6 separate regions of the Homo sapiens genome follow, and all the other regions are linked to region 6. Evidence: promoter capture Hi-C in 16 types of primary human blood cells and fetal thymus (Javierre and others, 2016). All regions are on one chromosome and are shown on one strand. The core of a region is centred on a gene start or on the middle of the fragment in contact, and the rest is flanking DNA. Distances in the headings are between cores, read along the strand shown.

Region 1 (4,110 bases), core at 4-2,503, 370 kb before region 6:
TCCCCCGTCTCGCCCTCCCAAAGTGCTGGAATTACAGGTGTGAGCCACTATGCCCAGCCCATTCATGTATTTTAATTGGAGTATTTAGTCCATTAACATTCAGTATAATAATTGATAGGTAAGGACTTACTGTCATTTTGTTACTTGTTTTCTGGTTGTTTTTTTAACTCCTCTCTTCCTTTCTTTCTGAGTGTCTTCCTTTGTGGTTAGGTAAAGTTTTCTGGTAATACATTTTAATACACTGAGCTTTATTTTTGGTGTATTTAATATAGGTTTTTGCTTTGCGGTTGCCATGAGGCTTACAAAATTATCTTATAAATATAATAAGTTATTTTAAACAGATGACAACTTAACTTTTATCACAGAACAGAAAGGAAGGAAAAACTAAAAAACTCTATACTTTAATTCCACCCCCCATTCTGACTTCTTGTTTTTTCAATTTACATCTTTTCATATTGCCTATCTCTTAAAAGGCTGCAGTAGCTATTTTTTATAGATTTTTCTTTTGGTCTTCATTCTAGATTTTTGAGTAGATTACACAATGACAATATTAGAATATTGTTAATTTGTCTGTTTGTCTGTGTACTTTCTTTTACCAGTGAGTTTCTTTCTTTCTTTCCTTTTTCTTTTTTTTGAGACGGAGTCTCACTCTGTCACCCAGGCTGGAGTGCAGTGGTATGATCTCGGCTCACTGCAACATCTGCCTCCTGGGTTCAAGTGATTCTCCTGCCTCAGCTTCCCAAGTAGCTGGGATTATAGGCACCCACCACCACACCCAGATAATTTTTGTATTTTTAGTAGAGATGGTGTTTCGCCATGTTGGCCAGGCTTGTCTTGAACTCCTGACCTCAGGTGATCCTCCCCCCTTGGCCTCCCAAGTGCTGGTATTACAGGTGTGAACCACTGCACTCAACCAGTGAGTTTCATATCTTCAAATGTTTTGCTTTTGTATGATAGCATCATTTTCTTTCAGACTGAAGTACTTTTAGCATTTCTTGTAAGATGGGTCTAGTGGTGATGAATTCCTTCTGTCAGCTTTTGTTTGTTTGGGAAAGACTTTATCTCCCCTTCATGTTTGAGGGAAAGCTTTTTCTGGGTACAGTATTCTTGGTTGAAAGTTTTTTTTTTTCCCATTAGCACATTGAATATGTCATTCTACTTCCTTTTGGCCTTTATGTTTTCTCCTGAGAAGTCTATTGCCAGATGAATCAGAGCCCTTTTATATGTTATTTGCCTCTTTTCTCTTGCTGTTTTTATGATCGTTTCTTTGTCCTTGACCTTTGAGGGTAAACTCTCAAAGTCTTATATGCCTTCGGGTGGTATTATTTGGATTGAAGTCATTTGGTGATCTCTAGCCTTCCTGTAGCTAGATTATACCTTTCTCTAGGTTTGGAAACTTTTCTGTTATTATTTGTTTAAATAAGCTTTCTAACACTTTCTCTTTCCCAATTTCGTCTTTAATGGCAATGACACTTAGATTTGCTCTCTTAAAGGTATTCTCTATATTTTGCAAGTGTTCTTCATTTCTTTCCATTCTTTTTTCTTTCTTCTCCTTTGACTGTGTATTTTCCGATAGCCTGTCTTTGAACTAACTGAGTTTTCCCACTGTTGATCCATTGTGCTGTTGAGAGCCTATAATGTATTTTTCAGTTTAGCAAACATATTTCTCAGTTCCAGGATTTCTGTTTAAATTTTTAAATTATTTGAATATCTTTGTTAAATATCTCTAGTAAATTTCTGAATTGCTTTTCTGTGTTATCTTGGAGTTCACTGAGTTTCCTTTGAACTGCTACTTTGGATTCTTTAACAGAGCTTATATATCACTGCCTCATTAGGATCAGTCTTTGGCTCATTGCTTTGCTCATTTGTGGAGGTCAGAGTTCCCTGTTTGCTGTTGTTTCTTATGGATATACATCTATGGCTTTGCATTGGAGGATTATTTACAGTTTTTGCTGTCTGGCTTGTTTTGGTCTTCCTAGGGTATGTTTGCTATGGGGTAATATTTAGCTGCCTGTTGGTCTCCTTATCCTACATTGTTGCCTCCTTTTCAACACTAGATGGTGCCTTAAGCCCAGATTTGGCTTGGGCTTCTTGCAACTGCTCAGAGTGTTGCCCATCCCTGACTGAGGAGAGAGAGGAAGTCCCAAAGAAGTTACCATACCCATGAGGGAAATCTGGCTAGGGATTTGTGCTCAAAAGACTGGTAGAATGTGCCTCATACAATGTCGTACTGCTGAACAGACACTCTGATTTGGCATCTCCTTTGCCTTAAAGACCAGGGTTTCACAGGCTGGGGTTTCTAGTCCCACTTTCCCTCTTTATCTCCAGCTGCCCTTGGGGTTTTCCTTCCTACAGGTATTTCCCATGAGTTGAGGCAGGAATGCTTTTCCTACAAGGGAATCCACGATGGTGGAGAAGCTGGCTATCTACCTCAATCTCACTTTTTCCGATCTAGAAACCATGAGTCTGGGGGAATTTTCCACAAATGGTGCCTGGCAGATTGAGGATCGGTATCAAAGATAGACAGGTTTGTTTCTCTTACCCGAAGCTCGGAGTTTCTCACTTCTCTGTGGCTGTAGGGATTGCCCCAGCCTCAGATTTGAGTTTTAGGATTTTGCTGGTTACTATATATATATATATATTTTTTTTTTTTTTGGAGGCGGGGACCGGGTCTTGCTTTGTCACCCAGGCGGGAGTGGAGTGGAGTGGAGTGGCTCCAATATGGCTCACTGCAGCCTTAACTTCCTGGGCTCAAGTGATCCTCCCACCTCATCCCCCCAAGTAGCTGGGACTACAGGTGTGCACCACCACACCTGGCTAATTTTTTGTGTTTTTGTGGAAGCAGGGTTTTGCCACATTGTCCAGGTTTGTCTCGCACTCCTGGACTCAAGCAATCTGCCCACCTCAGCCTCCAAAAATTCTGGGATTACAGGTATGAACCACTGTACCTGGCCCCTGGTGATAATCTTGATGCTGGATATTTGTTCTTGGTTTTCTGCTGGGGAGAGCAAAGTCAGATTGTTTCTGCTATACCATTTTGATGACATCCTTTGATACTAAAATCTTTTAAGGAAAATATAAGAATAATGTATCACAGGCTAATCTTGTTTATATAAAGATGCAAAAATATGATCAAATTAGCAGCAAAGTGAGCCTAACTATCTTAAAGACAAGACACTACTTCAGGAAAACTGGACTTCTTTCTGAAAAGAATTTTTTAAAAAGAAGTGTGTTATTATTACTCATCATATTTAGATATTAAAATAAAACATATATGATTATCTAATTAAATGTAGAAATAGCATTGGTAGCATTCAACATCCATTCATTGTTAAAAGTCTTAGAAAACAAGGAATAGAGGAAACTTTCTTAACATGAAAAATTAAGGTTATTTACAAATAATTTACAGGAAACATCGTATTCAATTGTAAATTACTGAATGCACTTATCTTACAATCAGAAATAGGCCGGGTGCGGTGGCTCATGCCTGTAATCCGAGCTCTTCTGTGGCTGAGGCAGGCAGATCACCTGAGGTTGGGAGTTCGAGACCAGCCTGACCAACATGCAGAAACCCCATCTTTACTAAAAATACAAAATTAGCCGGGAGTGGTGGTGCGTGCCTGTAATCCCAGCTACTCAGGAGGCTGAAGCAGAAGAATTGCTTGAACCCAGGAGGTGGAGTTTGCAGTGAGCCGAGTTCATGACATTACACTCCAGCCTGGGCAACAAAAGCAAAACACCGTTTCAAAAAAAAAAAAAAATTCACAATAGCAAAGACTTGGAACTAACCCAAATGTCCATCAATGATAGACTGGATTAAGAAAATGTGGCACATATACACCATGGAATACTATGCAGCCATAAAAAAGGATGAGTTCATCTCCTTTGTAGGGACATGGATGAAGCTGGAAACCATCATTCTGAGCAAACTATTGCAAGGACAGAAAAACAAACACCGCATGTTCTCACTCATAGGTGGGAATTGAACAATGAGAACATTTGGACACAGGATGGGGAACATCACACACCAGGGCCTGTCATGGGGTTGGGGGAGAGGGGAGGGGTAGCATTAGAAGATATACCTAATGTAAATGACGAGTTAACGGGTGC
Region 2 (4,094 bases), core at 1,481-3,980, 350 kb before region 6:
CAGATTTCCCTCTGTGCATGGGTGTGTAGGAGTGCATGTTTTGGTAGAGAGCAAGGAGTTTACCAACATCATGTGCTAAACAGTCTGTGAGCTCAGAAAACAAATAGAATCCCTAATATCAAAAAAAGAAGAGCAATAAATGTTCTGTGTACAATTTTTTAGCACCTTAGGAGAAGCAGTCCATGGACATTACTGGAATAGAGGTTTTAATGTCTGGGGTAAATACATCTCCAGCACAGGGTGCAAAGTAATTTCCAAAGATGAAGTCTTGCTCTGGGATGATGTCATCTGAGGTGGTGTCACTTACAGAAGTGAGCTCCTGGGCTGAGGTGATGCCATCTGGAATGTGGGAATGGGGAATACATTCCAAGTAGAGACCTGCTCAGGTTGATGTGGGTATTGTGTTTGTGTCTTTTATGGTATAATAACAAGTCTGAGCTGTTTGCATAATTTGAAGACAACATTGGAACTGGAAGTTTGACTTGTAAATATTTCTTACATGTAGGGCCTTGTGGGTGCACACCTAGCAAAGCTGAAATTCTAGAACTTAATTGGGACAGTTAAAACCCCAATTAAGAGTGGCTGAATCTCACAATTTCCAACAATTAGAGGTTTTGCCCAGATGGGTGATAAGAAGGGTTCTGTTGCAAATGAGTTTTAAATCATATGGCTCGGTTTAGGTATAAGTTATTAATAGGATGTCAGGCTGTTTGCCAATTAAAATATCTATGGCTGAGATTGGAGCTCCAGCATTATCCTATGGGCAGACCTCTAATTTGTTAAATGACTGTGGGCTCTTTGCCTCAATTGTTGGTTTGGTTGGTGATGAGCAAGCTTACAAGGTTTGGGTTGGAGGGCTTGTATTAACTAAACTTGATGGCATGTGGGCCTCAGCATTTCCCATAATTGATTGAGCAATTACTTGGAAGGTCTGGATTGCAGACCAATGAAAGCACCCAGACCAATAGTAGTGATACCCACAGTTAACAAAATGGTGTACAGCTGCACTTGACAGTGTTTTTTCTTTTTCTTTCTTTTTTTTTTTTTGTGGTAGAGGTGGTGAGAATTTAGACTCAAATAGGTCCTGGGAAGACTACACACCTTTGAATTGGCCTCCAGCATTTATGGGATAGAGGCAAGATTAAACATTTATAAGTATGAGGAAGATATATTTAGGAGTCTCACGTGTAATGAATATTTATATATGTGAAGGGGAGATATATCCCCCCTTTAAATGTAGGAAAGGGCAATGGGAAAGTTTTTAAAAAATTGGTGTGAGACGTGAGTCACTGAAACGTCCTTGATTTAAGGGAGATTAAGGCCTGGGGCAATATAGAGACACATTCCACGGTCCATTTTATGGGAAGAAATTTGAAAAAGGATTGTTTGAGGAGACTGTTATGTCTATCAATTAAACCAGCTGTCTGGTATCTATCAGGGACATGAAAATTCTACTGATGCCTTTATGAAAAAGAGCCTGGGGCAGTTCCAAGATGGCTAAATAGGAACAGCTCCAGTCTACAGCTCCCAGTGTGAGTGATGCAGAAGATGGGTGATTTCTGCATTTCCAGCTGAGGTACTGGGTTCATCTCACTGGAGCTTGTTGGACAATGGGTGCAGAACAGTGGGTGCAGCCCACCGACCATGAGCTGAAGCAGGCTGAGGCATTGCCTCACCCAGGAAGCACAAGGGGTCAGGGAATTCCCTTTCCTAGCCAAGGGAAGCTGTGACAGACCGCACCTGGAAAATTGGGTCACTCCCACCCTAATACTGCACTTTTCCAGTGGTCTTAGCAAAGGGCATACCAGGAGATTATATCCTGCACCTGGATCAGAGGGTCCCATGCCCACAGAACCTCACTCATTGTTCACAGAGCAGTCTGAGATCGAACTGCAAGTCTGCAGCAAGGCTGGGGGAGGGGTGCTCTTTATTGCTGAGGCTTGAGTAGGAAAACAAAGTGGCTGGGTAGCTCTAACTGGGTGGAGCCCACCACAGCTCAAGGAGGCCTGCCTGCCTCTGTAGACTCCACCTCTGGGGGCAGGGCATAGCCCAACAAAAGGCAGCAGAAACCTCTGCAGGCTTAAATGTCCCTGTCTGAAAGCTTTGAAGAGAGTAGTGGTTCTCCCAGCATGGAATCTGAGAACTGAGAATGGACAGACTGCCTCCACAAGTGGGTCCTTGACCCCCAAGTAGCCTAACTGGGAGGCACCCCCCAGTAGGGGCAGGCTGACACCTCACACGGCCGGGTACCCCTCTGAGATGAAGATTCCAGAGGAACGATCAGGCAGCAACATTTGCTGTTCAGCAATATTCACTGTTCTGCAGCCTCCACTGCTGATAAACAGGCAAACAGGGTCTGGAGTGGACCTCCAGCAAACTCCAACAGACCTGCAGCTAAGGGTCCTGACTGTTAGAAGGAAAACTAACAAACAGGACATCCACACCAAAACCACATCTGTACATCACCATCATCAAAGACCAAAGGTAGATAAAACCACAAAGATGGGGAAAAAGCAGAGCAGAAAAGCTGAAAATTCTAAAAATCAGAGCGCCCCTCCCCTTCAAAAGGAGTGCAGCTCCTCACCAGCAACAGAACAAAGCTGGATGGAGAATGGCTTTGATGAATTGAGAGAAGAAGGCTTCAGATGATCAAGCTTCTCCGAGCTAAAGGAGGAAGATCGAAACCATTGCAAAGAAGACAAAAACCTTGAAAAAAGATTAGACGAATGGCTAACTAGAATAACCAGTGTAGAGAAGTCCTTAAAAGAAGCTGAAAGCCATGGCATAAGAACTACGTGATGAATGCACAAGCTTCAGTAGCCAATTCAACCAACTAGAAGAAAGGGTATCAGTGATTGGAGATCAAATGAATGAAATGAAGTGAGAAGAGAAGTTTAGAGAAAGAAGAGTAAAAAGAAATGAACAAAGCCTCCAAGAAATATGGGACTATGGGAAAAGACCAAATCTATGCCTGATTGGTGTACCTGCAAGTGACAGGGAGAATGAAATCAAGTTGGAAAACACTCTGCAGGATATTACGCAGGAGAACTTCCCCTACCTAGCAAGGCAGGCCAACATTCAAATTCAGGAAATACAGAGAACACCACAAAGATACTCCTCGAGAAGAGCAACTCCAAGACACATAATTGTCAGATTCACTGAAGTTGAAATCAAGGAAAAAATGTTAACAGCAGCCAGAGAGAAAGGTTGGGTTACCCACAAGGGGAAGCCCATCAGACTAACAGCGGATCTCTCGGCAGAAACTCTGCAAGCCAGAAGAGAGTGGGGGCCAAAATTCAACATTCTTAAAGAAAAGAATTTTCAACCCAGAATTTCATATCCAGCCAAACTAAGCTTCATAAGTGAAGGAGAAATAAAATCCTTTACAGACAAGCAAATGCTGAGGGATTTTGTCATCACCAGGCTTGCCTTACAAGAGCTCCTGAAGGAAGCACTAAGCATGGAAAGGAACAACCGTTACCAGCCACTGCAAAAACTTACCAAATTGTAAAGGCCATCGAAACTAGGAAGAAATTGCATTAACTAATGAGCAAAATAACCAGCTAACATCATAATGACAGGATCAAATTCACACATAATATTAACCTTAAATGCAAATGGGCTAAATGCTCCAATTAAAAGACACAGACTGGCAAATTGGATAAAGAGTCAAGACCCATCAGTGTGCTGTATTCAGGAGACCCATCTCATGTGCAGAGACACACAGAGGCTCAAAATAAAGGGATGGAGGAAGATCTACCAAGCAAATGGAAAACAAAAAAAGGCAGGGGTTGCAATCCTAGTCTCTGAAAAAATAGACTTTAAACCAGCAAAGATCAAAAGAGACAAAGAAGGCCATTACATAATGGTAAAGGGATCAATGCAACAAGAAGAGCTAACTATCCTAAATATATATGCACCCAATACAGGAGCACCCAGATTCACAAAGCAAGTCCTTAAAGACTTACAAAGAGACTTAGACTCCCACACAATAATAATGGGAGACTTTAACACCCCACTGTCAACATTAGACAGATCAACGAGACAGAAAGTTAACAAGGATGTCCAGGAATTGAACTCACCTCTGCACCAAG
Region 3 (4,045 bases), core at 1,465-3,964, 390 kb before region 6:
GCGTAGGCAGAATCCAGGATAAACCAAGAATGAGCTTTCAGTTGTCTTCTGCTGGTGGAGTTGAATGGATAGTGCTTAATTCTCCCAGCAGTAATGTGTGATATCATTTTTTTCTTTTTCTTTTTTTAAAAATTTTATTTTTCCATAGGTTATTGGGGTACAGGTGGTGTTTGGTGATATGAGTAATTTCTTTAGTGGTGATTTGTGAGATTTTGATGCATCCATCACCCAAGCAGTGAATGGCACCCTATTTGTAGTCTTTTATCCCTCACTCTCCTCCTACTCTTCCCCCCAAGTCCCCAAAGTCCAGTGTATCATTCTTATGCCTTTGCATCCTCATAGCTTATCTGCCACATAACAGTGAGAACATACAATGTTTGGTTTTCCATTCCCGAGTTACTTCACTTAGAATAATACTCTCCAATCTCATCCAGGTCACTGTGAATGCAATTAATTCATTCCTTTTATGGCTGAGTAGTATTCTATCTATCTATCTATCTATCTATCTATCTATCTATCTATCTATCTATCTATCTATCTATCTATCTATCATCTATCACAGTTTCTTTATCCACTCATTGACTGGTGGGAATTTAGGCTGGTTCCATATTTCCTCAACTGTGAATTGTGCTACTATAAACAAGCAAGTGCAAGTATCTTTTCCGTATAATGGCTTCTTTTCCTCTAGCTAGATACCCAGTAGTGGGATTGCTGGATCAAATGGTAGTTCTACTTTTAGTTCTTTAAGGAATCTCCACACTGTTTTCCATAGTGGTTGTGCTATTTTACATTCCCACCAGCAGTGTAGAAGTGTTCCCTGATCACCTCATCCACTCCAACATCTACTGTTTTTTGATTTTTTGATTATGGCCAGTCTTGCAGGAGTAAGGTGGTATCACATTGTGGTTTTGATTTGCATTTCCCTGATCATTAGTGATGTTGAGCTTTTTTTAATATGTTTGTTGGCCACTTGTATATCTTTTTTTGAGAACTGTCTATTCATGTCGTTAGCCCACTTTTTGATGGGATTGTTTGTTTTTTTCTTTCTGATTTGTTTGAGTTCATTGTAGATTCTGGTTATTAGTCCTTTGTCAGATGTATAGATTGTAAAGATTTTCTCCCACTCTGTGGGTTGTCTGTTTACTCTGCTGACTGTTCCTTTTGCCATGCAAAATCTCTTTGGTTTAATTAAGTCCCAGCTATTTATCTTTGTTTTTATTGCATTTGCTTTTGGGTTCTTGGTCATGAAATCCTTGCCTAAGCCAATGTCTAGAAGGGTTTTACCAAGGTTATCTTCTAGAATTTTTATAGTTTTGGGTCTTAGATTTAAGTCCTTAATCCATCTTGAGGTGATTATTGTATAAGGAGAGAGATGAGGATCCAGTTTCATTCTCTTACATGTGGCTAGCCAATTTTCCCATCACCATTTGTTGAAAAGGGTGTCCTTTCCCCACGTTATGTTTTTGTTTGCTTTGTTGAAGATCAGTTAGCTGTATTTGGGTTTATTTCTGAATTCTCTATTCTGTTCCATTTTTCTATGTGCCTATTTTTATACCAATACCATGCTGTTTTTGTGACTATGGCCTTATAATATAATTTGCAATCAGGCAGTGTGATGCCTCCAGATTTGTTCTTTTTGCTTAGTCTTGCTTTGGCTATGTGGGCTCTTTTTTGGTTTCATATGAATTTTAGAATTTTTTTTTCTAATTCTGTGAAGAATGATGGTGGCATTTTGATGGGGATTGCATTGAATTTGTAGATTGCTTTTGGTAGTATGGTCATTTTCACAATACTGATTCTACCCATCCATGAGCATGGTTTGTGTTTCCATTTGTTTGTGTCATCTATGATTTCTTTCGGCAGTGTTTTGTAGTTTTCCTCGTAGAGGTCTTTCAACTCCTCGGTTAGGTATATTACTAAGTATTTGTTTTAATTTTTTTTGCAGCTATTGTAAAAGGGGTTGAGTTCTTGATTTGATTCTCTGCTTGGTCGTTGTTGGTGTATAGAAGAGCTACTGATTAGTGTACATTAATCTTGTATCCAGAAATTTTGCTGAATTATTGTATCAGTTCTTGGAGCCTTCTGGAGGAGTCTTTAGGGTTTTCGAGGTAAACAATCATATCATCAGCGAACAGTGACAGTTTGAATTCCTCTTTACTAATTGGATGCCCTTTATTTCTTTCTGTTGTCTGATTGCTCTGGCTAGGACTTACAGTACTATGGTGAAGAGGAATAGTGAGAGTGGGCATCCTTGTCTTGTTCCAGTTCTCAGAGGGAATGCTTTCAACTTTTCCCATTCACTATTATGTTGGCTGTGGGTTTGTCATAGATGGCTTTTATTACATTGAGGTATGCCCCTTGTATGCTGATTTTGCTCAGAGTTTTAATTAAAAGGGATGCTGGATTTTGTCAAATGCCTTTTCTGCATCTATTGAGATGATCATGTGATTTTTGTTTTTAATTCTACTTATGTGGTATATCACATTTATTGACTTGCATATGTTAAATCATCCCTGCATCCCTGGTATGAAGCCACTTGATCATGGCGGATTATCTTTTTGATATGTTGTTGGATTCTATTAGCTAATATTTTGTTAAGGATTTTAACATTTATGTTCATCAAGGATATCGGTCTGTAGTTTTCTTTTTTGGTTATGTCATTTCCTGGTTTTGGTATTAGGTTGATGCTAGCTTCATAGAATGAATTAAGGCAGGTTCCCTCTTTTTCTAACTTGTGGAATAGTGTCAAAAGAATTGGTACCAATTGGTCTTTGAATATCTGGTAGAATTCTGTTATGAATCTGTCTGGTCCTGGACTTTTCTCTGTTGGTGATTTTAAATTACCATTTCAATCTTGCTGCTTATTCTTGGTCTGTCCAGGGTATCTAATTCTTCCTGATTTAAGCTAGGAGGGTTGTATTTTTTCAGAAATTTATCCATATCTTCTAGGTTTTCTAGTTTATGTGCATAAAGGTGTTCATAGTAGCCTTAAATAACCTTTTGTATTTCTGTGGTGTCAGTTGTAACATCTGCTGTTTTGTTTCTTATTGATGCTATTTGGATTTCTCTCTTCTTTTCTTTATTAATCTTGCTATTGGTCTATCAATTTTATTTGTCTTTTCAAAGAACCAGCTTTTTGTTTTATTTATCTTTTGTATTTTTTTGGTTTCAATTTCATTTAGTTTTGCTCTTATCTTGGTTATTTCCTTTCTTCTGCTGGGTTTGGGTTTGGTTTGTTCTTGTTTCTCTTGTTCCTTGAGGTATAACCTCAGAGTGTCATTTTGCACTTTTTCAGTCTTTTTAATGTAGGTATTTAGGGCTATGTACTTTCTTCTTAGCACTGTCTTTGTTGTATTGCAGAGGATTGATAGGTTATGTCACTATTGTCATTCAGTTCGAATAATTTTTAAATTTACATCTTGATTTTGTTTTTGACCTGATGATCATTCAGGAGCAGGTTATTTAGTTTCCATGTATTTGCATAGTTTCAAAGGTTCCTTTGGGAGGTGATTTCCAGTTTTATTTCACTGTGGTCTAAGAAAGTGCTCGATATAATTTAAATTTTCTTAAATTTATTGAGGCTCATTTCGTGGCCTATCTTATGGTCTATCTTGGAGAAAGTTACATGCACTGTTGAATAGAATGTGTATTCTGCAGTTGTTGGATGGAATGTTCTGTATATATCTATTAAGTTTATTTGTTTCAAGGTATAGTTTAAATCCATTATTTCTTTGTTGACTTTCTGTCTTGATGACCTGTCCAGTGCTGTCAGTGGAGTATTGATGAAGTCCCCCACTATTATTGTGTTGCTGTCTTTTTCATTTCTTAGGTCTATTAGTAATTGTTTTATAAATTTATGAGCTGCAATGTTAGGTGCTTATATGTTTAGGATTGTGATATTTTCCTGTTGGACAAGACCTTTTACCATTACATAATGTCCCCTTTGTTTTTTTTAACTGCTCTTGCTTTAAAGTTTGTTTTGTCTGACATAATAATAGCTACTCCTGCTTGCTTTTGGTGTCCATTCACATGAAATGCCCTTTTC
Region 4 (3,982 bases), core at 1,316-3,815, 290 kb before region 6:
GGTGCCCTCCATTGATTGACTTTTTCATGTGTTGAAGAAGTCTTGCATTCTGGGATAAGTCTTATTTGGTCATTGTATATCTTCCTTTTTTTTTTTTCCCCAGCAGTTATGTGCTGGAAGGGGAAGTACTTTCCTTTTTATATGTTGTAAAATCCCATTGAGATGGAACGTACATTTATCATGATATTCCCCCCTTAAATAAAGTCTACTTTAACAAGTGCCATAAATATTTTCTTCTTTAAACAGCTATGGTGCCTGTGACTTGCGTAGAGTCAGAGTCGTCATCATTGTACCCCGACCTCTCATCCAGGGCCTTACATGTGTTCCTTTGAACCCTTTGTCTTCAATCCCCAGGGACTGGTCAGGAATCCGTTGGTGAGTCAGATTCCTGAACCATTGCTCTAGATGACAGTTCACTGAAGCTAAGGACAGATTTTGATTCTTAAGATTCTGAGTATACTGAAAAATCTGGATTAGAGTCTCAGAATAACAGAAGCTGAATTTGAGGCCCACGTTTCTTTGTTTGCAAGAAGTTGGGCTATGAGCAGCTGTTTATAAGAAACTAGGTTAGTCCCAGGTAAAAGGAGGTGGGTTAGAGCCCTAGACTTCTTTGTTTGAAAGATACCTGCTGGACTAGCAGTCTTTCTTCCTGTCTCTCTCTGTCTGGAGGGAGGATTGATCCCTGACTTCCTGGGTTGGTAGTTTTTCTTCCTGGCTCTCAGTCTTGAGTGGGAAATTTTTCTTGGCTCTTTGTGAGGCCTCTCCATTCTCTCTATTTTATCCTGTTTCTCTCATGGAAAATTCTCAGTTGGCTGAAACTCCCTTCTTGAACTCCTACTGACTATATGCTCTACCAATCTGTCCACCTCCTTCCTGTTGGCATAAATTTGCAGAGAATAATTTGGAACTTCATTGTCCTCTTTGGGAAACTTATGATCTCCCCAAACTGGCTTCTGTAAGGCCTCTCCCTTCCCATTCCTCCTTTGTTCTTTAACCACTTTTGATCTTCCCTTCAGCGACCTTGAAGCCTTTGATATATCCCCCTTTTAACTCTACCACCTTCATCCCTCTGTTCATTCTGCCAGGCTTTTCATTTCCCACTTCAACCTCTCAGCTCCCAACAGTCACTTGAACTATAGACCCCTTGGCCTCCATTGGGGGCTCTCCTTAAGAGACTGAGGGATCCCTGAGGGATCCCCAAAAGCAATGATTAGAGGCTGAAAACAGAAAAAAAACTTTGGAAACAGACTGGATGTTTTGTACACTCAGGTGAGTGTTGGATACACACAAACAGCTTCATAATAATTCACCAAAATTTTAGCCCACAACTTCCCTAAGATGACAAAGAAAGTCTTAAAAATGTCTGCTACAAATGTTGGTGAACAGATATCCTTAATTTGTCCTATTTGCCAGAAACGTGATTTGGATAAAAATATAAAGTAGAAGAAAGGTGAGAGGCAATTATTTTATATAAACCAGAGAGTTTTGTATTACTAACTTATGGCTAAACTTTGAAAATGAAAGCACTAAGATCTCTACAGTCTGTATATTTCTGTATGTGTATATGCATGTATGTTATGTTTATGTGATATTTTTCTACTCCCAAATGGTATTATCAAATTAATTTATGCAATTTCTTAGAGGAATTCTATGCAAATTGACTTAGAGATAAATGAGTGCTTATATAAATTAAATATTCCTAAAACTCACAGAAATTTAGAAACTCAAATGTCTTTCAAGTTCATGTGACTTGGGTAAGTTTTTGGTAAATAAGATTAGTTTAATATTGTTAGTTTAGTAAAAACAGCTGTGTTCTGGGTAATCAGCATTAAGTATAATAGAAACATACATTTATATTCTACTTGGGTTTAATAGTCATATAAGGTTAAAATAGTTAAGGGGGAAATAACTTGAGATGATGACTAACTTTGCTTAATGTTACAATAAGTCTACCTGAAAAATAGTTTCTTTTTGGTAACTTGAAACCTTAAGTTATACTAAGTTAAATGATGCATATTCATTGAATATCTAGATTATTTCCAAATAAGATAAAATACTGAAACAATTACTGAGCATAAGTTTAAGTTTATATATTTTTGGCATCTTGCTTTTATACAGTATAAAGAGACTAAATATATTTGAGTCTGTTAATTTTTGTCACATTGAAAAATTATACTATGAGGAAGCATATGCCTCTAAAATTGTGAAATGGTATATTCATCACTTTTGCAAGCTTGCTACAGAATGCTGCCATGTAACAAAGACATTTCACAATTATCTACCTCCTAATTTTCTCTATAAAAGAAACCTTACTAATGGTTAAACATTACAATTAATATGTGAAAATAATTAGGAAAACAATTCTTCATCAAAAGTTTTCAGGGAAAATAGGATATATCTTTGATAGGAAATATACGAGTATGAAGGATGTGTTTTTGTTAAGGGAAAAAGAGAGTAATTTTATCCTAAAGTTAGATGACTAGTTGTTCCAGAATGAGGAATAAGAAAAATATAGAGCAAAAACTAAAGGATATAGGAAGTTGCAGAAGGCTTGTGGAAAATGAAATTTATGTGTAGTCAAGCTGGCTAAGATTTGAATTCCTTTGTTTACACATTTAAAAATATGAGCCTTAACATCAAAAGTACACTAATGCAAAGCTAGAATATGGCTTTCTTTCTGTTAAAAAGACAAATTTTGGGTGGGGGGATTATTGGTTTGCTCTTAATAAGAGATTGTGAAAGGCTTTTCTTTAACTTTTGCATAATCTGCCTGGGAAACCAATGTTTTGTGTCTTTTCTGAATAATTTCCTCTGTTTTATGTTGTCTTTATCATGTCTTTGATTACTTAAGAGTCTTCACAATATTAAAAGAGCTAAGGGTTTTGTTTACAACTATGTAAGCTTCTGTATTTGCCTTTAAAATCTTTTATTGTCACTTTGGTTAAACGGATAACTGTTGTTTCATGGTGGCCTGTGATCCTACTTACTCGTCTATTTAAACCTTTTGACATTTTTGACAATCTCTAACAATCGGATGCTTTATGAGGTCTTTTTGACCTAAAACTGACTGAGACATCACAGACGGCCCCTGGAAAATACCCAAGAGAATTTTTCTTTCATTTTGCAAAGGAATCTGGTAAAAATAATTTATATTATTTGATATGTTAAGCTGAATGGAAATGTGTCAAATAAGAAGTGATGCTTAACCTTCCCTAGGTTACATTTGTATAGGTAAAATGCTATTTTCAAGAAATCATATAAAATTTCTAGAAATTTTGTATGTCCTGGTATAAAGTGATCAGCTATAATTTGAGTTATTATTTTAAACTTTGTATGTCACAAAATAACCAAGCTTCCTTATTAAATGAATTATCATCAGATCTTTAACCTGGATTTATATTATGTTTTTCTTTTTAAATTCCTGTACCAGTACAGCACTATTCGTTACTGTAACTTTATATTAATTTTTGATATCTAGAAGAGTAAGAGTTGCTCATTTGACTTTCCTTAGAGCTGTCCTGTCCATTCTAGGTCCTTTTTCCTTGGCTTTTTATGTATGTTTTAATAAAGCATATTCTGTTGTGCATGCATTCATATTTACCTACACACACACATCCAACCTTTTGAAATTTTGTTGAGTTTTGCATCGAATATATAGAATTATATGAGGAGAACTGGAATTTTCTAATCTATGCAAATGTTTTATTTCTCAGTTTATTTTTCCTTTTATTTAGTTTCAATAATATTTTCTAGTTTTTTGTATAGATGAGATCCACATATCTTTACAGTTATATACACCTTTCCAATACTTGGTATTTTCAGTTCATAAAATTTCAACCCATCTGATGATGCCTAGTGCTATCTAATTGTTTTAATTTTTTTCCTTATGTCAAACAAATTAGAGCACATTTTCATAAATTTATTGGTCATAAAGATATCCCCTTTTCTGAAGTCTTATTCAAAACTTTTCCCCAATGGTTAT
Region 5 (3,696 bases), core at 78-2,577, 410 kb before region 6:
TTGTTTGTTTTTTTCTTGTAAATTTGTTTAAGTTCTTTGTAGATTCTGGATATTAGCCCTTTGTCAGATGGATAGATTGCAAAAATTTTCTCCCATCCTGTAGGTTGCCTGTTCACTGTGATGATAGTTTCTTTTGCTGTGCAGAAGCTCTTTAGTTCAATAAATAATGATAAAGGGGATATCAGTACTGATCCCACAGAAATACAAACTACCATCAGAGAATACTGTAAACACCTCTATGCAAATAAACTAGAGAATCTAGAAGAAATGGATAAATACTTGGACATAAACACCCTCCCAAGACTAAACCAAGAAGAAGTTGAATCCCTAAATAGACAAATAACAAGTTCTGAAATTGAGGGAGTAATTAATAGCCTACTGGCTGGGCGCGGTGGCTCATGCCTGTAATCCCAGCACTCTGGGAGGTTGAGGTGGGGGGATTATGAGGTCAGGAGTTCGCGACCAGCCTGACCAACATGGTGAAGCCCTGTTTCTACTAAAAATACAAAAATTATCTGGACGTGGTGGTGGGCACCTGCAATCCCAGCTACTCAGGAGGCTAAGGCAGGAGAATCGCTTGAACCCGGGAAGTGGAAGTTGCAGTGAGCCGAGATTGCACCACTGCACTTCAGCCTGGGTGACACAGCGAGCCTCTGTCTCAAAACAAACAAACAAAAAACAAAGAAACAAACCAACCTGGGAGTAGATGGATTCACAGCCGAATTCTACAAGAGGTACAAAGAGGAGCTGGTACCACTCCTTCTGAAACTATTCCAAACAATAGAAAAAGCAGGACTCCTCTCTAACTCATTTTATGAGGCCAGCATCATCCTGATACCAAAACCTGGCAGAGACACAACTCTTGCCTTTAAAAACCCTTACCTGTGTGCCATCAGGGAGTTTGGGTTTTAAGCAGCATGAGCTGTTCTGATTCTCCTTGCTTGGTGTCTTGCAAATAAATGGCTCCCTTTCTACTGCTGCAATAACCTTTTTGTGGATATCTGGACTTAACTGCACTGGGCAAATGGAACCTAGTTTGGTTCTATAACAATATCTAGTAGGCAGCAAAGACTCAGATTTTGGAGGCTGAAAGTCTGGTGACTCTCGTTATGCAGGGGCAACACATTTGGATAAAAGAAACTGCAACAGTTGGAAAACTTAACTGTCTGCCACCTGGTGTGGTGTCAGTGAAAAGGATGGCAAAAAGGCAGAGTATTGGGGTTGGTTGGCTGCTTCTTACTGCTTTCATCCAAGTTCTAGAAAAGAGATAAATTCAGGCTAGAGCTCACCAGTCTGTTAACAGAGATACAGACTGTTGGAGGTATAGCTCTCTTGCAGGTGCTCCGTGCCTGAGGCCTCTAATTTAAATTGACTGAAGGTCTGGAATTGGAGCCTTGCAGTTTGGTAAAGAAAATCAGGAGCATACCTCAAAGGGAAGCAGTTATATGCTGTGGCTGTGAAAAGACAGCCTAAGCAGGAGATAAAACTGTGGTCCTAAACCTTTTTCAGTACCTTTTATTAAGAGTTTTCTGCCAGACAATGAGAGCTCAGTGCAACAGCAAAGATCAGATTAAGAATCTTGTTTTTATGCTAAAACAAGGGTTTTTTTTTTTTTTTCTTTCTGAGGGCTTCTAGACTGCTGCCATTAACTTTATGGCTTAAGAGGCATGGATAGAGGAGAGAAGCCAGTAAGCACAGACCAGAGTCTTCAGATTTAAAAACGATGTGCAGATGCATTTGGTTGTGGAATATTTGCATGTGGGATGTCTGGAACTAACCACAGGCAAACAGATCATAACTCTACTAAGGTTTTGAAGGAATTATACTGACAGAGGAATCACAAGCCTGGCTGTAAAAGCCTGTGACTGTTCCACCCCTAAAGCCCAGGCCTCCAAAACAGAGAGTGGGAAGTTGTGCAACACCCAAGTAGGTAATACTTTCCAATGTTGTATTAGTCAGTTCTCACACGGCTATAAAGAAATATCTGAGACTGGGTAATTTTTAAAGAAAAGAGGTTTAATTGGCTCATGGTTCTGTAAGCTGTGCAGGAAGCATGATGCTGGCATTGTCTTGGCTTCTGGGGAGGTCTCAGGAAACGTACAATCTGCACGTGGCTGGAGCAGAAGGCGAGGGGAGGTGCCACACACTTTTAAATGACCAGATCTTATGAGAACTCTATCATGAGAACAGCACTGGGGGCCGGTGCTGAACCATTAGAAACTGCCCTCATGATCCAAATCACCCCCCGCCAGCCCCCCTCTCCAGCACTGGGGATTACATTTCAACATGAAATTTGGGTGAGGATACAGAGTCAAACCATATAAAATGTCTATTTCAATTTGTTCATGGAAGATAATGGACAAGAGAGAACAGATTAGACAGGACAGTGGACAAGGGAATTACTCTCCAAGACCAGAATCCAGGATGTCAGATGGTCAAAATAAGCACTCTACTACCAAAGAACAATGGAATTTATTAATTATAATGGACTAGTGACTGCTGTGTATTTTCTCTGCTCCCCATTACCAAATCGTAGATTTAATTGCATGCAGTTAATCTGCTTCTTGCTCCTCCATTGCATCTTTGGTGTTTTTGAGGCAGATGAGGTCACCAGATCACAAAGATCCATATCTAGACTTGACTGAGAGTTATCTCCCAGAGGTCCTGGACTTTGATCTGGAAGCTGTGCCTGGTTGGGGCTTTGCTGTTGTGTCTTTTGAGGAGGGTATGAACAGGTCCTTTATGGAGAGGAAGGTTGTGCACAGGTGGTTGGGTGACCAAAGGGACTGACTGTATTGGAGACTGCAATAAGAGTTCCAAATATTCATTCGTCCCTTCTTCCTTAGTAAGAATCCTCAAATGTTAGATGGAAGCTTGGCTGCTGGACCTAAAGATTATTTTTCAGCTGTCATTGCTAGTCCTATGGACACAAGACTAAGTTTTGGCCAAGAGTGTACAAATGACTGTGCTTGGTGCATCCGCTGAGAGGTGTCATTAGAGGGAAGAATGGGAGAATCCTTTAAAACAACAACAAAAAATCTTTCCTGCTGGCCAGAATGAGTTTGCTGGAAGTGGAAGGGATATTGTCAACCAGGAGGTAATGTGGAGTCCACATGATGAAGATGGTGGTATAAGATAGAAGAAAGCTGGATTGTTGACAATGGAGCTCCCCAGAATAGTTGTAGGTTGCCTGTACTTATGTGAAATAAAAATGTATTTTTGGATCAAATTCTAATGAATACACATTTTACCTTAGATTTATATAATTAGGTAAAAAAACCAGAGCAGCTTTTTTTTTTTTTTTTTTTGAGATGGAGCCTCACACTGTCACCCAGGCTGGAGTGCAGTGGTGTGATCTTGGCTCACTTCAACCTCTGCCTCCTGAGTTCAAGTGATTCTCCTGCCTCCGCCTCATGAGTAGCTGGGATTACAGGTGTGCGCCACCTCGCCCGGCTAATTTTTGTATTTTTAATAGAGATGGGGTTTCATCATGTTGGCCAGGCTGGTCTTGAACTTCTGTTCTCAAGCAATCCACCAGCCTTGGCCTCCCAAAGTGCTGGGATTATAGGCATGAGCCACCACACCCAGCCCATTGCAGCATTTTTAATGATCAAAAAAACAAACAACAAAAAACAACCAAACTTAAGAGAACCCACTGGAAGTGGAGGCAATATGGTGAAGATATGGATTTGAATA
Region 6 (4,087 bases), core at 1,559-4,058:
ACTTGTTCCTGTTGTGCATGCTTTGCTCATAATTCTGACATCTCCTTCCAAAGGGACTCATTCTCACTTTTTAATTCAGAAATCCTGTACTCAATAGTTTCCTGTTTTATTGAAACCTTCTGAGCACTACTTATAATTTTTTTTAAATTCTTCCTGAAGAATTTTTTTTTATTCTGGTTTTGAAGATGAAACCTTCCTTTTAATGTTCTCCAACAAGTCATCCTGTCCTTGTTTGAAGTAAGGATGCTGAAATTCTACAGGACCATCTCTTTCCTGCTTTACAATTTCAGAGTCGATATGTACTGCTTTACGGAAATCATACATATTCAGTTGCCTCACAAAGCTTGCCATGTTATTGTGCTTGAAATATTTGGGAAGAATTTCTTTTGCAAATCGTTGCTCATCCAAGACCAGAAAACTTTGGCCATTCTGGTTCCAGGTGATGAATTCCTTAGTGTGGGTTTCCTCCACAAGAGTCCACAGCTTGCTGAGGAAAGTTGGCAGTTCAAACTCTGCTTCCTTGTTAACAGGTGCACAGGGATTCCAAATTCTACATCCAAATGCGGTGGTAGCATCGGCGGCAGCGACCGGAATAATTTATTAAAGATTCAGTTGTTGGACCAACTGGATGTCATTACTTTAGAAAGGTGAGTAACTGTCATCCAGGATATAATCTGTGCTCTTCATTAGCGACAAATATATGAAACAATTACAGGTCCAAGTACAAGGAGTCAAAATGGGATTGTCAGCCACCACTGTAAAACCTATCAACTCACTCTCAATTTTTTTTTGCTGGATGCTTGCATGACATTTGTCCCTGCTGAATGAATATTCTTACTGCTTAACGGAGAGATAATTTTACTAGGGGAACACAACAATTGATAAAATGAGCTCTAAATTCAGTCTCCTTACTGAATTTACATTCATTTTGCTGAACCAACTGAGAGGTGAAGCTGGCTGGGCTTCTGGGTGGGGTGGGGACTTGGAGAGCTTTTCTGTTTAGCTAAAGGATTGTAAACACACCAATCAGCACTCTGTGTCTAGGTAAAGGTTTGTAAATGCACCAATCAGCACTCTGTAAAAACGGACCAATCAGCACTCTGAAAAATGGACCAATCGGTGCTCTGTAAAATGGACCAATCAGCAGGACGTGGGTGAGGACAAATAAGGGGATAAAAGCAACCCACTAGATTCCCCTTCCACCCTGTGGAAGCTTTGTTTTTCAGCTTAGCAACAAATCTTGCTGCTGCTCACTCTTTGGGGCCCTGCTGCCCTTATGAGCTGTAAAATTCACCACCAAGGTCTGCAGCTTCACTCCTGAAGCAAGCCAGACTACAAACCCACCCGAAGAAAGAACAGCTCTGGAGGTGCCACCTTTATGAGCTGTAACACTCATTGCAAAGGTCTGAAGCTTCACTCCTTTTTGTTTTTTTTCTTTTCTTTTTTTGTTTTTGTTTTTTAATTATTATTAGACTTTAAGTTCTAGGGTACATGTGCGCAACGTGCAGGTGTGTTACATATGTATACATGTGCCATGTTGGTGTGCTACACCCATTAACTCATCATTTACATTAGGTATATCTCCTAATGCTATCTGTCCCCCCCCGCCACCTCAGGACAGGCCCCGGTGTCTGATGTTCCCCACCCTGTGTCCAAGTGTTGTAGTTGTTCAATTCCCACCTATGAGTGAGAACGTGCGGTGTTTGGTTTTCTGTCCTTGCCATAGTTTGCTGAGACTGATGGTTTCCAGCTTCATCCGTGTCCCAACAAAGGACATGAACTCATCCTTTTTTATGACTGCATAGTATCCCATGGTGTATATGTGCCACATTTTCTTAATCCAGTCTATCATTGTTGGACATTTGGGTTGGTTCCAAGTCAGCGAGACCACAAACCCACCGGGAGGAACGAACAACTCCAGACATGCCACCTTTAAGAGATTTTAAGAGCTGTAACTCACTTTTGAAGTCAGTGAGACCACAAACCCACCAGAAGGAAGAAACTCTGGACACATCTAAATATCTGAAGGAACAAACTCCGGACACACCACCTTTAAGAACTTTAACACTCACCGGAAGGAACCAACAGTTCTTTAAATTATTTTGAACTATATACAGGGACTGATGAGAAGTTACTAACTTAATACATGACACCTGAATAAACAACTTTAAAGCAATTAAAATTACAATATAAACCCAACTTTAGATCCAGTTAATCATGTGGCCTTTACTTGATGGATTAGAGGGCGTTTGTTGGATTTTTGCCCATATCATGGTCGTGCTGTTCTATCTTTCTTCTCAATTACTATTGAGAAAATATAGTTTAAAAAGTCATCAAGGAGAGATTTGGGTGAATAGAATTCTGAAAGTAAATATGAAATTAACTTTATGATTAGGACTCAAAATTTTCCTACAAATGGCATTATGAACCACAACATTTCCTTTCGTATCTATTTCTACTTGCTTATCAAAAACTGTGCTATAATGATAAATTGAAAATGCTGCTTTTTCAGTGAAGAAATTAAAATTAAAAGATCCTTGTGATTTTTCCTAAAGAATGTCTCATATGTACTTTAAGTACTCTTAGGCTTTTTAAAAAAATATAGAATCTCTGAGGTCTTCATGGATCTTGCTTTTAGATCCTAGAAGTCTTACTAATTAATTGACTTGTGTTCTTCTCTCCCAGAGGTACTGTCTCCCAGAACATAGAGGAAATCTCAATACTGTAATTATATGAAAAAGCTGTAGCAAAACCGAAGCCCTCGTGGATAACTGCTGTTGATATTTTGGCAGTATTCAGAGATGCCAAAGAGCTCAGGACCTCTACTTGCATATCCATGGCAATCTATCCTCTTGCCTTGAAAGCATACAAGTTTCTGAGAATTCAGGATAGATAATATCTTGTGGATTGATTCCTCAGGTTCACTTTGCTTATCTATAGATTTTTGTTCCTGGAATCACTTCAGTTTTGGCAGAACATGATTTGAAAAATTCACCTTGACTCTCTTCTAAAAAGGACTATAAAACTTTTCAGGAAATCAACTACTGAAAAAAAGACTTTTTAAAATAGAGCAATGAGGCACATAAGCCACATTTATCTATGGGAAGAATCTAAAACTGTAATAATAAATGTGGATTTGTGGGGAATGATTCATTTTATTTCAAAGTAATTATTTTTCAGTATTTATAATTATGACAGTCATTAATTAACTTTATGTTTATCCTTTCTAGAATTAAAACAATAAACAGAGGAAAACATTGGAACTCTGCTGATTGATTTTTACCAGAATCTGACCAGTTACTAAACAATACAAGGTAAAAGTAACTTAAAACCTGTAAGTTTTTGAAAAATAAGTCACAAACTGACTACTTGTTGTTGGCTTCTGCGGGAATAACTCCCTTTTCCAGGTAAAAAATGTCATCAGCAATGCATTTATTAACATTTATAATGTTACAATGTTTATAACATTTATGATATAAATTTATTTTAATAAGTTTGTTTTTTTATATTCTCTGATTCCACATACTCATTATCATTCAGCTTTTTTCTACGTAATAATATGTATTGAATTATTGTCATTCACTAGATTCAGAACATTATGTTGACAATACGCAGCAAACAAGCTGAGTTTGATGTTAAGGATATTATTGTCAAGTGAGGAATAATTACTATTAATAATAATATTAAATTCTAATGTTGAAATGAGTTTGATAGAAATAAATCTTAGAAATTAAAATAATCTGTTTTGCTTCTAGATGAGAATAAAATGAAGATAAATTATATATATTATTTTTCAAAAAATGATTTTTCATGCTGACTTCAGTCAGCTTTCTTTCACTTCTTAAATGTCTCACATCTTTCCAGACCCTAAGTGCAATCTAATGTAAGCTCTTACTACTTCTTAATTACTTACATATTTAATTTTTGATAAAATGGGTGAATATTTTATTTTCAACATTTAATACAGTCTTAAATAATGATAACATCTTATTCAGCTTTTCTCTTAATAATCTTTTTTCTCAGGCAAAATATTCCATTTCTCCAAGAGTTCTTCATCTCTCTAAACTTTTAACAGATTGATTCTTCC

What was found. Contacts are between HindIII fragments. The CHiCAGO score rates a contact against its expected background, and 5 or more counts as called.
Region 1: a fragment that was not itself captured here is called in contact with the fragment with the promoter of OR9K2 in region 6 in 11 of 17 cell types (naive B cells, erythroblasts, activated CD4 T cells and 8 more); the score reaches 9.2 in naive B cells.
Region 2: a fragment that was not itself captured here is called in contact with the fragment with the promoter of OR9K2 in region 6 in 4 of 17 cell types (naive B cells, total CD4 T cells, non-activated CD4 T cells and 1 more); the score reaches 6.1 in naive B cells.
Region 3: a contact is called between a fragment that was not itself captured here and the fragment with the promoter of OR9K2 in region 6, in 5 of 17 cell types (activated CD4 T cells, total CD4 T cells, naive B cells and 2 more). The highest score is 12.4, in activated CD4 T cells.
Region 4: a contact is called between a fragment that was not itself captured here and the fragment with the promoter of OR9K2 in region 6, in 3 of 17 cell types (total CD4 T cells, activated CD4 T cells and non-activated CD4 T cells). The highest score is 6.1, in total CD4 T cells.
Region 5: a contact is called between a fragment that was not itself captured here and the fragment with the promoter of OR9K2 in region 6, in 9 of 17 cell types (naive CD8 T cells, activated CD4 T cells, total CD4 T cells and 6 more). The highest score is 10.9, in naive CD8 T cells.

The regions. Positions count from the first base shown.
Region 1 is chr12:54,757,866-54,761,975 of GRCh38, forward strand. No RefSeq gene overlaps it. Among named protein-coding and RNA genes, the nearest start is that of MUCL1, 95 kb to the right of the region's middle. The HindIII fragment of the contact is 338 bases long and covers 1,085-1,422 here.
Region 2 is chr12:54,775,282-54,779,375 of GRCh38, forward strand. No RefSeq gene overlaps it. Among named protein-coding and RNA genes, the nearest start is that of MUCL1, 77 kb to the right of the region's middle. The HindIII fragment of the contact is 157 bases long and covers 2,653-2,809 here.
Region 3 is chr12:54,737,801-54,741,845 of GRCh38, forward strand. No RefSeq gene overlaps it. Among named protein-coding and RNA genes, the nearest start is that of DCD, 91 kb to the left of the region's middle. The HindIII fragment of the contact is 7,865 bases long and covers 1-4,045 here.
Region 4 is chr12:54,829,607-54,833,588 of GRCh38, forward strand. It overlaps a transcript of MUCL1 not described here. Among named protein-coding and RNA genes, the nearest start is that of MUCL1, 23 kb to the right of the region's middle. The HindIII fragment of the contact is 668 bases long and covers 2,232-2,899 here.
Region 5 is chr12:54,714,578-54,718,273 of GRCh38, forward strand. No RefSeq gene overlaps it. Among named protein-coding and RNA genes, the nearest start is that of DCD, 68 kb to the left of the region's middle. The HindIII fragment of the contact is 3,088 bases long and covers 1-2,871 here.
Region 6 is chr12:55,123,598-55,127,684 of GRCh38, forward strand. It overlaps OR9K2 (olfactory receptor family 9 subfamily K member 2), which reads left to right and starts at 2,809. Exons shown (of 3, transcript NM_001005243.2): 1 at 2,809-2,919; 2 at 3,231-3,314. It also overlaps the pseudogene LOC644383. The HindIII fragment of the contact is 7,142 bases long and covers 1,410-4,087 here.